Linked DNA regions of Homo sapiens: region 1 is linked to region 2. The links are contacts of gene promoters, found by promoter capture Hi-C in blood cells and fetal thymus (Javierre and others, 2016). All regions are on one chromosome and are shown on one strand. The core of a region is centred on a gene start or on the middle of the fragment in contact, and the rest is flanking DNA. Distances in the headings are between cores, read along the strand shown. Region 1 holds the start of ALCAM (activated leukocyte cell adhesion molecule). Region 2 holds the start of SENP7 (SUMO specific peptidase 7).

What was found. The method cuts DNA at HindIII sites, captures the fragments that hold promoters and counts their contacts. A CHiCAGO score of 5 or more calls a contact.
Region 1: a fragment that was not itself captured here is called in contact with the fragment with the promoter of SENP7 in region 2 in 1 of 17 cell types (total B cells); the score reaches 5.3 in total B cells.

The regions. Positions count from the first base shown.
Region 1 is chr3:105,366,704-105,372,647 of GRCh38, reverse strand. ALCAM (activated leukocyte cell adhesion molecule) reads right to left here and starts at 5,739. Exons shown (of 16, transcript NM_001627.4): 1 at 5,167-5,739. The coding sequence starts at 5,239. RefSeq lists enhancers at 2,717-3,217, 3,218-3,718, 4,055-4,214 and silencers at 5,245-5,364, 5,695-5,794. The HindIII fragment of the contact is 2,124 bases long and covers 2,507-4,630 here.
Region 2 is chr3:101,511,824-101,517,723 of GRCh38, reverse strand. It overlaps SENP7 (SUMO specific peptidase 7), which reads left to right and starts at 4,512. Exons shown (of 24, transcript NM_020654.5): 1 at 4,512-4,633. The coding sequence starts at 4,594. The HindIII fragment of the contact is 4,750 bases long and covers 3,745-5,900 here.

The sequences.
Region 1 (5,944 bases), core at 2,319-4,818, 3.9 Mb before region 2:
TAGACATGTTCATTGAAGTACCTCAACTCAAAGTCAAATTAAGTAATCCTTTGGTTAGAAGATGTTTTGGATTGTGCGCAACTCTGATTTCCCCTTCAATGGAATGGATAATTGAGAACTGACTGGATAAATAAGAGAGGAAGCATTAAAAGCTAATTTCATTCTTGGAACATAGACTACAGTAATGGGCTATGATAATAGGTTAGCATAAAACAATTACTGAATACCATACCACATTTGGAACTAGGCCTATCTGAAATATATAAGGTATTCTATTCAATAATAAGGGAGAAAAGAGAATGTAAAATTTATTATTTAAGCAGAGAAATTAGCTGCATGAAAATATCAGTAACTCCAAAAATATGGTAATGACTTACGTACTATAGGGACACTATAATAATTGTAGGATTTAGATTTAACCTTACCAAACAGCCTGCAATATTCTCTTCCTGAATATAGAATATCTATTTTAGTCTTGAATTTACTCTCCACAAGGAAAGGAAAATTCTACCCTAATAAAAAAAGTAATCAAAAGTATAAATGGATTTTTTTCCATTTCTTATTGAAAATAAACTGAGTTGAAATCCAAAAGTAATAACCAAATAAATGTTATCACCCACCACACCCAAGAAACCATTCTTTAGTATTCCAGTAAGTTAGTTCATTCTTCATATGTCACATACATGTGTCACACACATAATGTGTAAGAAATGAGATTAGCCTCTGTGAATACTTAACAATGAAGAATAAAATTAACACATTGTGAGAAATTGCATTTAAGTTTCTATGTATACATTGAGACAGAGACATATTCTTCTATCATAGCTATACCTAAGTGGATCTTCTGCATATCTGGGCTATAAATTGCATGTGTCTACTTGAGTGAATACCTTCAGGGAGCTAGAACTCTTTGATGGTGTTTTATGCTAAATAAATGGCCAGAACAGAAAGAAGTGTGTTTGGAATTGTAAAACATGGTGATTATAAAGCATTTAAAATACTATCTGACAAACTGCTGCCATCTTACACCAAGTAATATTGACAACTTAGGTGGTACTAAGTTTTACAAAGGCCCACGGTTAGTGGCATGAAAATTTGACGGAGAAAAAGAAAAAAGAGAAAAAAAAAAAGAAACATCTTTCCATTATTTTAATAAAATGATAAAAGTGATAATTAAGTGGAATAAATTAAAGAATGTTATTCTATTAACAATATAATAAAAGCCTTAATTAATATAGCACGTTTTACTTAAAAAATTTGAAATGCTGAGCAAGGGAATTACTAATCTCAACACAATCAGAACCACACATTGCACAGAAAGAAATTCACAGATGGGAAATAAAAAAGAGCAGAAAAATAATTTTCCCAAGGTCACAACATTCTTACATGACATAGTTAGAAACTGAACACATGAATACTGACTACAATATACAATTTTTCTAATAACACAAGACTATTTAATTAATTTTCTTCTTTTTGATAAGTCAATGGTAGACATGCATTTTCATCTGAATGTCTATTAAAAAAGATAAGCTAGTTTGAATTTTTTACAAAGTCAGAAAAGGTTTGGAATCTGGTAAGACAAGATATTTTGGATTTCTACAAGTTTTAAAACAATAGAAAAATATTAGTATTTTCTATTTCCTTCTGTCTTGCATTTACAACCATGTTGCAAATCAACTTTTTGAGCAACTTTAGGATGTACAATATGAGGCTTTGTCATATGAATATTTAAGCATAAACCATAATTTACATCTCATTCTAGGTACTATGTATGCAGTTTATATAGGAACAGGTTTGCAGGAGAGATGAGTTACACTAGCAGGGCTTTCTGAGGCCTACTATCCTTTCTTACTTTTGGGTCCTCTTTTCCCAGGAGAGTGGAAGGCTAATTTCTCTCCTTCACGCTTTTTTTTTTCCCTACTAAGGCTGGAAAGAGTAAGCATAGATGTTATCATGAATTTTTAAAGGTAGAAAAAAAAAGGAAATTAGAAATTGGGGTCTACTGATACTTTTCTAATAATACAATTTATATGAATTTTGTCTAGACTGAGATCCTTAGAAAAATAGTGTTGAAAAATGACTCTGCCTGCCTAAATTGGTTTTTTACCTTAAGACTTCAGAAACAAAGAGTTTTTGAGCTGGGAGACATTTCAGAGAGTAGGCCTCTAGTCTGTCTTTTTATTTTGTATGAGAAAACTGAAGCTCAAAAAGGTTAAATGACTTGCTCAAGTGCCTGAAGGTAGATGTCCTGAAGAAAGCCTAGAAAAGCAATTTACTGCAAATAATGCTCCATTAAATTGTAAATTGCTATTGGATTAAATAAATCCTTAAGGAAAAAATATATATATATTGGCTGTTAAACAGTTTTTAGTTTTTAAATTAATCAATTTCAATAGTCCTACATCAATAGTCTTTGAAAGGACATTATTTGAGTTGATGCTTTCCCAAGTCCTGTTGAGATCAATTGATATGTTTCAAACATAATATCCCACTGAAGAAAGCTTTATGTGTGCTTATGTCTTAGAATGAATCTTATATCAGTGAGATCAGTGAGTAGTTATGAAAAATCCCATAGAGGGGTTCATACAGATGACCCAAGTGAAGAAAGAGTTAACTGCAGCGCCCCATCTCCTTGTAAATAATCCAGAAAAGCATTCTTTTTTTAAGCAATACAAAATGTCACCACAGGCTGACGCTCTTTCTACAAGAATAACGAGAATATTGCTATCTCGGATGTTGAACACACACTTCATTGCCTTCATCTCTGAATTCAGTTTTCGTGGTTCATATATTTTTCTCCTCCTTTCAAAACAGGTAACGTGGCACGCCTAAAATATATCAATGACTTTGTAGCGACTACAAGCCGAAAGACCCGGGGAAGCAGTTTCACAAACTCGAGTTTTTGACCTCTACAACTGGACATACACTATTAAAACTGCTCCGGAAATGAAGAGTGGCCGGCAGGGAAGGCAGTTACCCCGCTCAAATGAAGCCGGCCTTTGGCACCGCGCCCCCACCGGGCTCTGCTATGCAGAGGGCTCCGAAGAAGGCGCACTTACTGTCCAAGACTTGCTTCCTCAGTGTAGACACGGCGCCTTTAGTGCTGTAACCTTTCCTTTCAAAACACACTGATACTGCAATGAGAATTTCGGCAATGCCAGCTCGGTAATTCACCGAAACCACGGATCTGAGGGTCCAGGGCCGATATCGGATCCTCAGATTCACGGTGGCTGGTTGCGGTGAGCCGGGGCTAGCCGCTCGCCGAAAGCGCGCAGCTCGGTGCCCCCTGGACACACGAGCCTGTGGCGCCAAAAGAACCACCGTGAAGGAGGTCTGAAAGCGGAACTTTCCCCCTTTTAGCAGTTAAATGTGTAGAAAAACCTATCCTGCGACGTGGCCCGCCTGTGACGGCACCGAAAAGGAAACTGGTTATGTGCCTGTGTCAGGGGTGTGGACGAGGGTGAGATTACATTCTCCAAGTCTCGAGGGGGTTAATCGGAAAACCAACTGTGGGCGTGTGGACGTTTGCATGTTACAAACCGACATCACCCTTGTCCTCCCTTCTTGGCTCATTCCCTGGCTCCAAAGTGTCCTTTCCTCCATCGGACAGTGGAATCTCGAAAAAGTGAAATCCACACTGTGCCAGGCCCAAGGGGGTCTCGCCTTTCCACCTACCTCCCCAGCGTTGTTACACTAGGACACCTGCTTTAAATCCGGTTGAACTATGGTTTCACAGTCCCCGCCCCAGAGCCCGAGATTTGTCAGAGAACGCAGACGCCTTTTTTTTCCCTCAGCCTCAGAAACATCAGGTGAGCTCATTACCTCACCCAGAAATGTAACTTTAATAAAGAGATCTGGAGAGGGCACTCCTCCCGCCCACACACACAGCAACGGCAGCAGCAGCAGCAGCTCGCAAACACTTGTAATCTCTTCCTCAGGCTCTGGCCCCCAAACCCCTCTCCCCGCCAGTTCCTGGGAGAGATTCAGAGGCTTTCAAACCTCTTCTGTGACCTGAGCTTGCCGACAGCTGAAGGGATGTGCACGGATAAAAGGAAGTGAGATTTTTCTTTGATAAAAGCTAAAGAAAAAGCTAAGAACAAACAGGCCAAAATACCAGGAAGTAGGAGTTTAACTGGCAACTGTCTACGCAGGGATAGAAAAAAAAAACTTCAAAGAAAAAAAAATCCCCTAAATTTTCAGTTTAGGGGAGCAAAGGAACCTGCTGCTCTGTCAGGCAACTGTGAGCGCACGGAATACCCTGTTAGAACAACTTGTGTCAGCCGCCAGGCGGGCCTGAGGATACCAGGGCCAGGGGACGTCCCCGAGGGTGTGGAAAGGGATTTCCCGAGAGATATTTTAGTTGTTGGGAATTTTGCCTTTTCTCTCTCTCTCTCTCTCTCTCTCTCTCTCTCTCTCTCTCTTCCAAGACTCAGTACAGAACTGAGAACTGAGGCTCTATGAGCAGGTCCTGGAAATTCACAAACCTCTCACTGAGGTGTCTCCCAGGCCTACCTACTAATTCCTGTTCTGGCTGTGTTATCTGCCTGCGGTCACCCTTTCACTCACCACCCGCCCAGACAATGGACGGGGACCGCAGGGGGTAACGTTGAAACCACGATTTTAAGCTTTAGCAGGTTTCGCAAGGGGGGCGGGGGGAGGTGATTAAAGTCCTCTCCTTCTCTACCCCTCCCATCCCTTCCTCGGCTCACCAAGGGGAAGTTACTAGGGGATTTATCACGAAAAAGTGCCGGCAGTTATTTCATCCGAGAACTAAGCGAAAGAAAAACTGCTCGGGGCGCAGTGACGTGGACTTGGATACCCAGAGACAGGAGGAACTGTCAGAGGGCAAGAGTCCGCCGCCTAGCTGGGAGCCGCAGGGACAAGGGGAGAGCGTCAGGCGAATCCTGCCCACCCCGGAGCACCAAGTTCCTGGAGATTCACCCAGTTTCCCCAGCTTGATGCCCAAACTTGAGCTAACCAGCCAAGCCCAAACGTGCGGCACAGGTGACCGAGCCCGGGGACAGCTCTGTGCCAGGACAGCGGTCCCCTTACCTCCACCACGCGCCTGGGCGCACTGCCTCGGGGGTGCGAGGCTGGGACGGGGACCTAGGAAACTGCTCCAGGCCCACGTCTGTCTGGGGCTGCTCCCAGGCCCTTGCTCACCTGGCCTGAAGACGGTGGCGGAGATCAAGAGGCAGAAGAGCAGACGGCAGGAACTGGCCCCCTTGGATTCCATATTCCTCCTCCTTCTTGGTGGGCCACTGACGGAGTCCACGCCGCAGGAGGGGGCGTCGTCCCGGGCCCCGCGGTGCCCGCGCGCTGGCGGGTCCCGACGCAGGGGCAGCGTCTTCTCCCAGACACACCGTCCCCTGGGCTGTGGCGCTGCACCTTCGGTTCTCTGCCGCACGCAACTTTCCACCACGCAATGCCCCCAACTCCTCCTCCCTCCCGGTCAACACCAGCCCACGGGCCCTTCGGCTGCTCCTCCGGGGACAACGACCCTCTGTTTCCAGGAGACACTTGAGTAATTCGGAAAGGTGTAAGCGGTTCTTTTCGCTGGTATCTTCTTTTATTTTCCTTGTATTGGAATGATAATAATAATGGCAGTGGCAATGTGCATGAAACGCCAGGTGCTAAGAAGGACTCGCAGGAGGCGGCGACGGGGGGGCGGCGGGTCTCCTCAGGTGGCAGCGGTGGTAGCAGCGGCAGCGGCGGCAGCGGTCTCCGGGCTGCTCTGAGTAGAGGGACTGGAAGGCGTGTGTAAGCTGCCTCTTTCCTCCTCTCCCCGCCTCCTCCCTCCCTCCCGTCTCCTCCCCACTTCCCCGGACGCAGCGCAAAGCAGGTGGTTGAAGCGCGGATCCGCAGCCTAGAGGCGCTGCAGGACTGAGTCCGAGCCCTGAGCCCAGCTCCGGGATCAGGGAGAACCGCGTGCCCCGGTCCT
Region 2 (5,900 bases), core at 3,263-5,762:
TTCTTAGTTGGAATGAACCCTTGTAACAACAGAAAAACAAAGAAGTTTATTAATGCATGCAGCGCATATCACCTTAGAGAAACGTAAATGCGGAGTAACTCAAAACAGTGGCTTACAACTCTGGCTTATGTAAGTATCTTCAACGAAGAACAATAAATTTCTGGAGAGAAGAAAGAACAAAGGAAAGAGTTTTAGGCTTCCAAGGGTGAGAAACTGTGGGAATGTAAATCTACAGAAGGAAACTAATACAGTAAGGTTTGTTTGCAGATTCGTCTGGGGCTTTCTGGGCTGGTAAGAGCCTAGACAGAATTTATGTCCTGCCTTTTAGGCAGAAAAAGGAGAGAGCGAGCTTTCCCTCCTTAATTGCCTTCAGCTCAAAAATAATTTTTATATAAAAGAGGTATATTTTGGCCTGGCACAGTGGCTCACGCCTGTAATCCCAGCACTTTGGGAGTCTGAGGCAGGTGGATCACGAGGTCAGGGGTTCGAGACCAGCCTGGCCAACATGCTGAACCCTTGTCTCTACTAAAAATACAAAAATTAGCCAGGCATGGTGGCAGGTGCCTGTAATCTCAGCTACTCGGGAGGCTGAGGCAGGAGAATCACCTGAATCTGGGAGGCGGAGGTTGCAGTGAGCTGAGATCGTGCTATTGCACTCCAGCCTGGGCAATAAGAGCAAAACTCAGTCTCCGGGAAAAAAAAAAAAAGGCATATTTTGAGGTGACATTCTGGTTTCCTTCAATAGTTTACCTTCAAGAATAAGATTGTTAGAGCTAGAAGGGACCTTATTGATATTCTTAGCTAACATGTTTATTTTATAAATGGAGAAGTTGAGGCTTTCAAAGGTAAAGTGGCATGCCCAAAGTAACTGAGGCAGCCCAGGAGCCTGAGAGAAGATTTTTTTTCCCCTTTTTTGACTTTTATTTTAGGGTCGGGGGAATGTGCAAATGTGTTACAAGGGTAAATTTTGTGTCACTGGGGTTTGGTATACAAATGATTTCATTACCCAGGTAGCGAGCATAGTATCTGATAGGTAGTTTTACAACGCTCACCCTCCTCCCACTCCAAGATTAGTTTTTACCAAAGATTTAAAAATGCATAGTATTTGACTTTTTATTTCATTCATTTACCAAAAATTTAGTGAGGCCATTTGGTAGGCACTTTGTTTCCTATGTCAAGTACTCCAGTCGTTTTACGCAGAATAAAATTTTAAAAAAGGAGAACAGCATATACGCATTAAAGAAAATTTGAAATTAGGCTTTTCCAGTATCCTGGATTAGGTGGTGACACAGCTGTAATGACTTGTTCTAGGTGTGGTTATTTCTTAAAAAACAATTGTGAAAATATACATAACAAAATTTACCATTCTAACCATTTTTAAGTGTGCAGTTCAGAGGCATTACGTACATTCATATTGTTGTGTAACCATTACTGACATCCATCCACAGAATGCTTTTCATCTTACAAAACTGTAACTCTATACCCATTAAACAATAACTCCCCATTCTCCTCATCCTAGGCACTAGCAACCACCATTCTACTTTCGATCTCTCTGAATTTGACTTCTCTAGGTTAGGTGTGATTATCTTTAAAGAAGAGGGTGGGTGGGACACCAGAATCATAGATGCAAATAACTTTAATTAGCGTATTTGGATTTTTAAGGAACCCCTTTCCTTTCTAGGATCAAAAGTGGTTACATTTAACAATATTTACATTTTTCACAGGTGATTAGTAAGCTTTTATAAGAAGTAATTTTATAATCTGAGAAGTTAGGAAATCCCCTGGTTACAGAGTAATAATCTAATACAGTAATTATAATCCTTTTTTATATTTAGGAACAAGGTCCTTTTGTATATACCATGCCATTAAGAAGCACAGAATGGAGAATACTTTTACTCAGAATATTTAAAAATATCTAATGATACTTTTTTTTTTTTACAACGAGTAAGTTTTCATTTATTTTCATATTTAGGAAAGCAAAACAAAACAAAAAACCTCTAGAAAATATGTTTGAAAGAAAGAATACTGTTTTGGTACAAAAGCAGCACTATTTTTCTTTTCCCAACACAGAAAGCAATTATGCAGTTTTTTAGAAAAATAATAATGCCTGTATTACAATTCCATTTAGTAAATTGTAGAAAATAATAGTGGTTGTGAAATTATATCTGTAGAAATTTCAAAATAAGATGAAAGTACATAATGTCCCTCCTCACTGTTCACCTCTCCCTAGGGAACAAAAAAGTTGTATTTAATCCACCAGAGGCAAGGACACATAGAAAAAAGAATATTAGAGATAGGAAAAAGAAAAAAGCAGATGTCACTAAGTGTTGGTTTTACCAAATTGGAGTATGCAACAGAATCGTCTGGGAAGTTTATTTTTTATGTTTTTTGGAGACAGGGTATCTGTGTGTCGCCCAGGCCGCAGTACCGTGTAGCGATCATAGCTCACTGCAGCCTCAAAGTCCTGGACTCAAGTAATCCTTAAATCTCATCTTCCCCAGTAGCCGGGGACTATAGGTGTGCTCCACCGTGCCCGGGTCATTTTTTTTTTTTTTTCCGAGACAGTCTGGCTCTGTCGCCCAGGCTGGAATGCAGTGGCCTGATCAAGGCTCACTGCAACTTTTAACTCCATGGGCTTAAGTGATCTTCCTGCCTTAGCCTCTTGAGTACCTGGGACTACAGGCATGCGCCACCACGTGTGGCTAGTTTTTTTCTTTGTAGAGAGGAGGTCTCACTATATTGCCCAGGCTGGTATCAAACTCCTGGGCTCAAGGGTGAGTCATAGCATCTGGCCTGTATATTTTTGTGGAGAGGGGGGTCTTGCTTTGTTGCCCAGGATGGTCTGGAATGTCTTGGCTCAATCTATTCTGCCTCGGCCTCCCAAAGTGCTGGGATTACAGACGCGAGCCACTGTGTCCGGCCCAGCTTGACTTTAGAATCAGTTAAGTTCTTTAGTTAAAAAAGTTAATTTGGGCCAGGCGCAGTGGCTCACGCCTGTAATCCCAGCACTCTGGGAGGCTGAGGCGGGCGGATCACGAGGTCAGGAGATCGAGACCATGCTGGCTAACATGGTGAAACCCCATCTCTACTAAAAAATACAAAAAATTAGCCGGGCGTGGTGGCGGGCGCCTGTAGTCTCAGCTACTCGGGAGGCTGAGGCAGGAGAATGGCGTGAACCCAGGAGGTGAAGCTTGCAGCGAGCCGAGATTGTGCCACTGCACTCCAGCCTGGGCGACAGAGCGAGACTCCGTCTCAAAAAAAAAAAAAAGTTAATTTGTGAGGAAACTGAAAATTCAATTATTTTTCAGAAAGCAATGTTTTTGTTAAACAGAAATTAACCAAATAAAACGAAATCCTTACAGTAAACTTCAATCCCAGCAAGACTTAAAGTATTTCTGCTTTGCAGTCATTCCTGCCATGTAGAACACTTCCCCAGGCCCAACACCCCACAACACCTGGGGCCTTACCTCTACCTGGGGACTGACCACATTATAATTAAGAAGGCTTAACTCACGATGAAGGGGACTGCTCTAGTGGACGAGTTGGGCCGATCCCTTTATTGACTCCGTTAGGATGGGAGATGGGGGTTGGAGGGATAGGCGTTAGGGGTATAAAGGGGCCAGCTTGGGAATCAAACCCTACTTCCAGAGTCCCTTCGGGCTTTGAACATGCCAGAAACATTTTCCCTGCTTAGAGCACTGTGCTGAATTTTGTTAAACTTGTGATTAAATCGTCATGAAAGCTTACACGTGCATTTAAAAATTATTCAGATATGCACCATTAGGGATAATCAGGCTAATAGTACCAGACCTTGAGTTCATTGAGGACTGGATTAGTCCCTTAAGTATCGTGGTAAATGTTAATTGAACAAATTCCAAGTTTATAGCCACCCACTTTCTGTCATATCAGCATTTCAGTTATTGAAAAATTAAGTTCTAGCTTTTCTTTTAAGGAACTTTAAAAATCACAAGTTCGAATTTTAAAAAGGAATCCTAAGACATTTTTCCTCGTCTGCTGACATATTTCCACAGCAAATGCTAAACTAATAGCTAGGCTATTATTAGGTGATTTTGCCATCTTAAAATCTTTTGGTTTCTGAGTTCGAGGAAAGGCGTTGGGGGCAAATATGTAAGAGAGGCTGTGAGGGATGTAATACTGCAAACGCTAACGTTTTGTTTTCATAGTTGTTTGGCCACCTCGCGAGATCCAGTGAACCGGAGGAGTTCCTGTTTTTCCCTTTTAATTTTTGTCAATCTAATCTTCAAAGTCAACAAAGCTAAAATCGAGCACCCAGGTGGTTCACCTCCCCAGAGGGGCTCAGATCATGAAATAAACGCCACCAAAAAAACGCTGGAAGAGGCAGCCCACAGTGAAAAGTCCCAGGAAGTGATTTCCGGTCGAAGGTGGGAGGGGCGGCTGATTTCCGGTCGAAGGGCAGGCGACGGCTCTTGCGCAAGCGCGCTTCGCACTTTGCGGGCTTTTTTTTTTTTTTTTTTTTTTTTTTTTTTTTCCTTTCCCCTCCCCCTCCCTCTCCAAGCCGGAGGGGTCCTGAGGTGACAGCGCCTGCAACTGAAATTTCAGCAGCGGGAGAAGATGGACAAGAGAAAGCTCGGGCGACGGCCATCTTCATCCGGTGAGAAAGGGTCAGAGAAGGGCTGAACATATTGTCTCCTACCCGGGGGAAACGGGAGGCGCAGGCGGCAGCTGGGGTTGCGGCCCGAAGCCGCGGGGGCGAGGGCGGGGGCGGGGAGAGGAAGGGGCGCGCACAATGGAAGGCTCCCGGGTCGCCCCCGCCCCTGGAGTCGAAGACCCGGTCCGAGCTGTCATCGAAGCCTCGGGCGCTCTTCACCTCAAAACCCCTTTTATTTTTTCCCTCCTCCCGCGAACACCCTCCTTGCGTCTCATCGGCCCATGGATCTTCCCGGTTGGCTTGTCACTCTCTGCCACGCCTTCCTCGTAATTCCACCAATGTTCCAATTTCATTTCGGCTTCTCAGCGCCTGACCCCACTTTCCTCTCTTCCTTTGATTCTCGACTTTGCGTCCCTTCCCCTCTCCCTCCTCTTTCCCTCAGCAGGTAGCTGCTGCTGGGGAGGAAAGGTGGGGCTTGCGACCGGAGACTCCTTTTCTTTGATACAATGCCTCTCCGGGTCTCGTTCTGCTGAACAGGCCCGCCTAATAGCCTTTTTCTTTTCCAGCCTACCCTGCGTCTTCCAAAAGTGATTGGAAAGTCAAACAAAGGATTTGAAGCCGTGCTTTCGTTGTGTTTTTATTTTCAGCATATTTTTTGTTTTGGACGTTACTTTGTTTTAAATGACTATCTTCAGTTTTGTGTACAACGTCTTGGAAACAAGAAAGTGGAGTTATAAAAACGTGAGGTAGAGCTCCTCCCAGTTGAGAAGTTTTTATCAAACATTTCATCCATTAGGGGGTCCTCAAGTCCTTGTGTTAAGTCCTATGGATGGTAGGAGGAGAGGACGAGGACTCATATGCTTACAGTCCAGTACACAAACGAACGCCCAATGAATCAATTATTTCATTTCATTTTTCTGTTTCTGATGGTACCGTTGGTTTCTGCAGAGACAGTTAACAATTACAGATTTATTGGCCGGGCGCGGTGGCTCACGCCTGTAATGCCAACACCTTGGGAGGCCGAGGCGGTCGGATCACAAAGTCAGGAGATCGAGACCATCCTGGCTAACATTGTGAAACCCCGTCTCTACTAAAAAATGCAAAAAATTAGCCGGGCGTGGTGGCGGGCGCCTGTAGTCCCAGCTACTCAGGAGGCTGAGGCAGGAGAATGGCGTGAACCCGGGAGGCGGAGCTTGCAGTGAGCCGAGATCGCACCACTGCACTCCAGCCTGGGCAACAGAGCGAGACTCTGTATCAAACAACAACAACA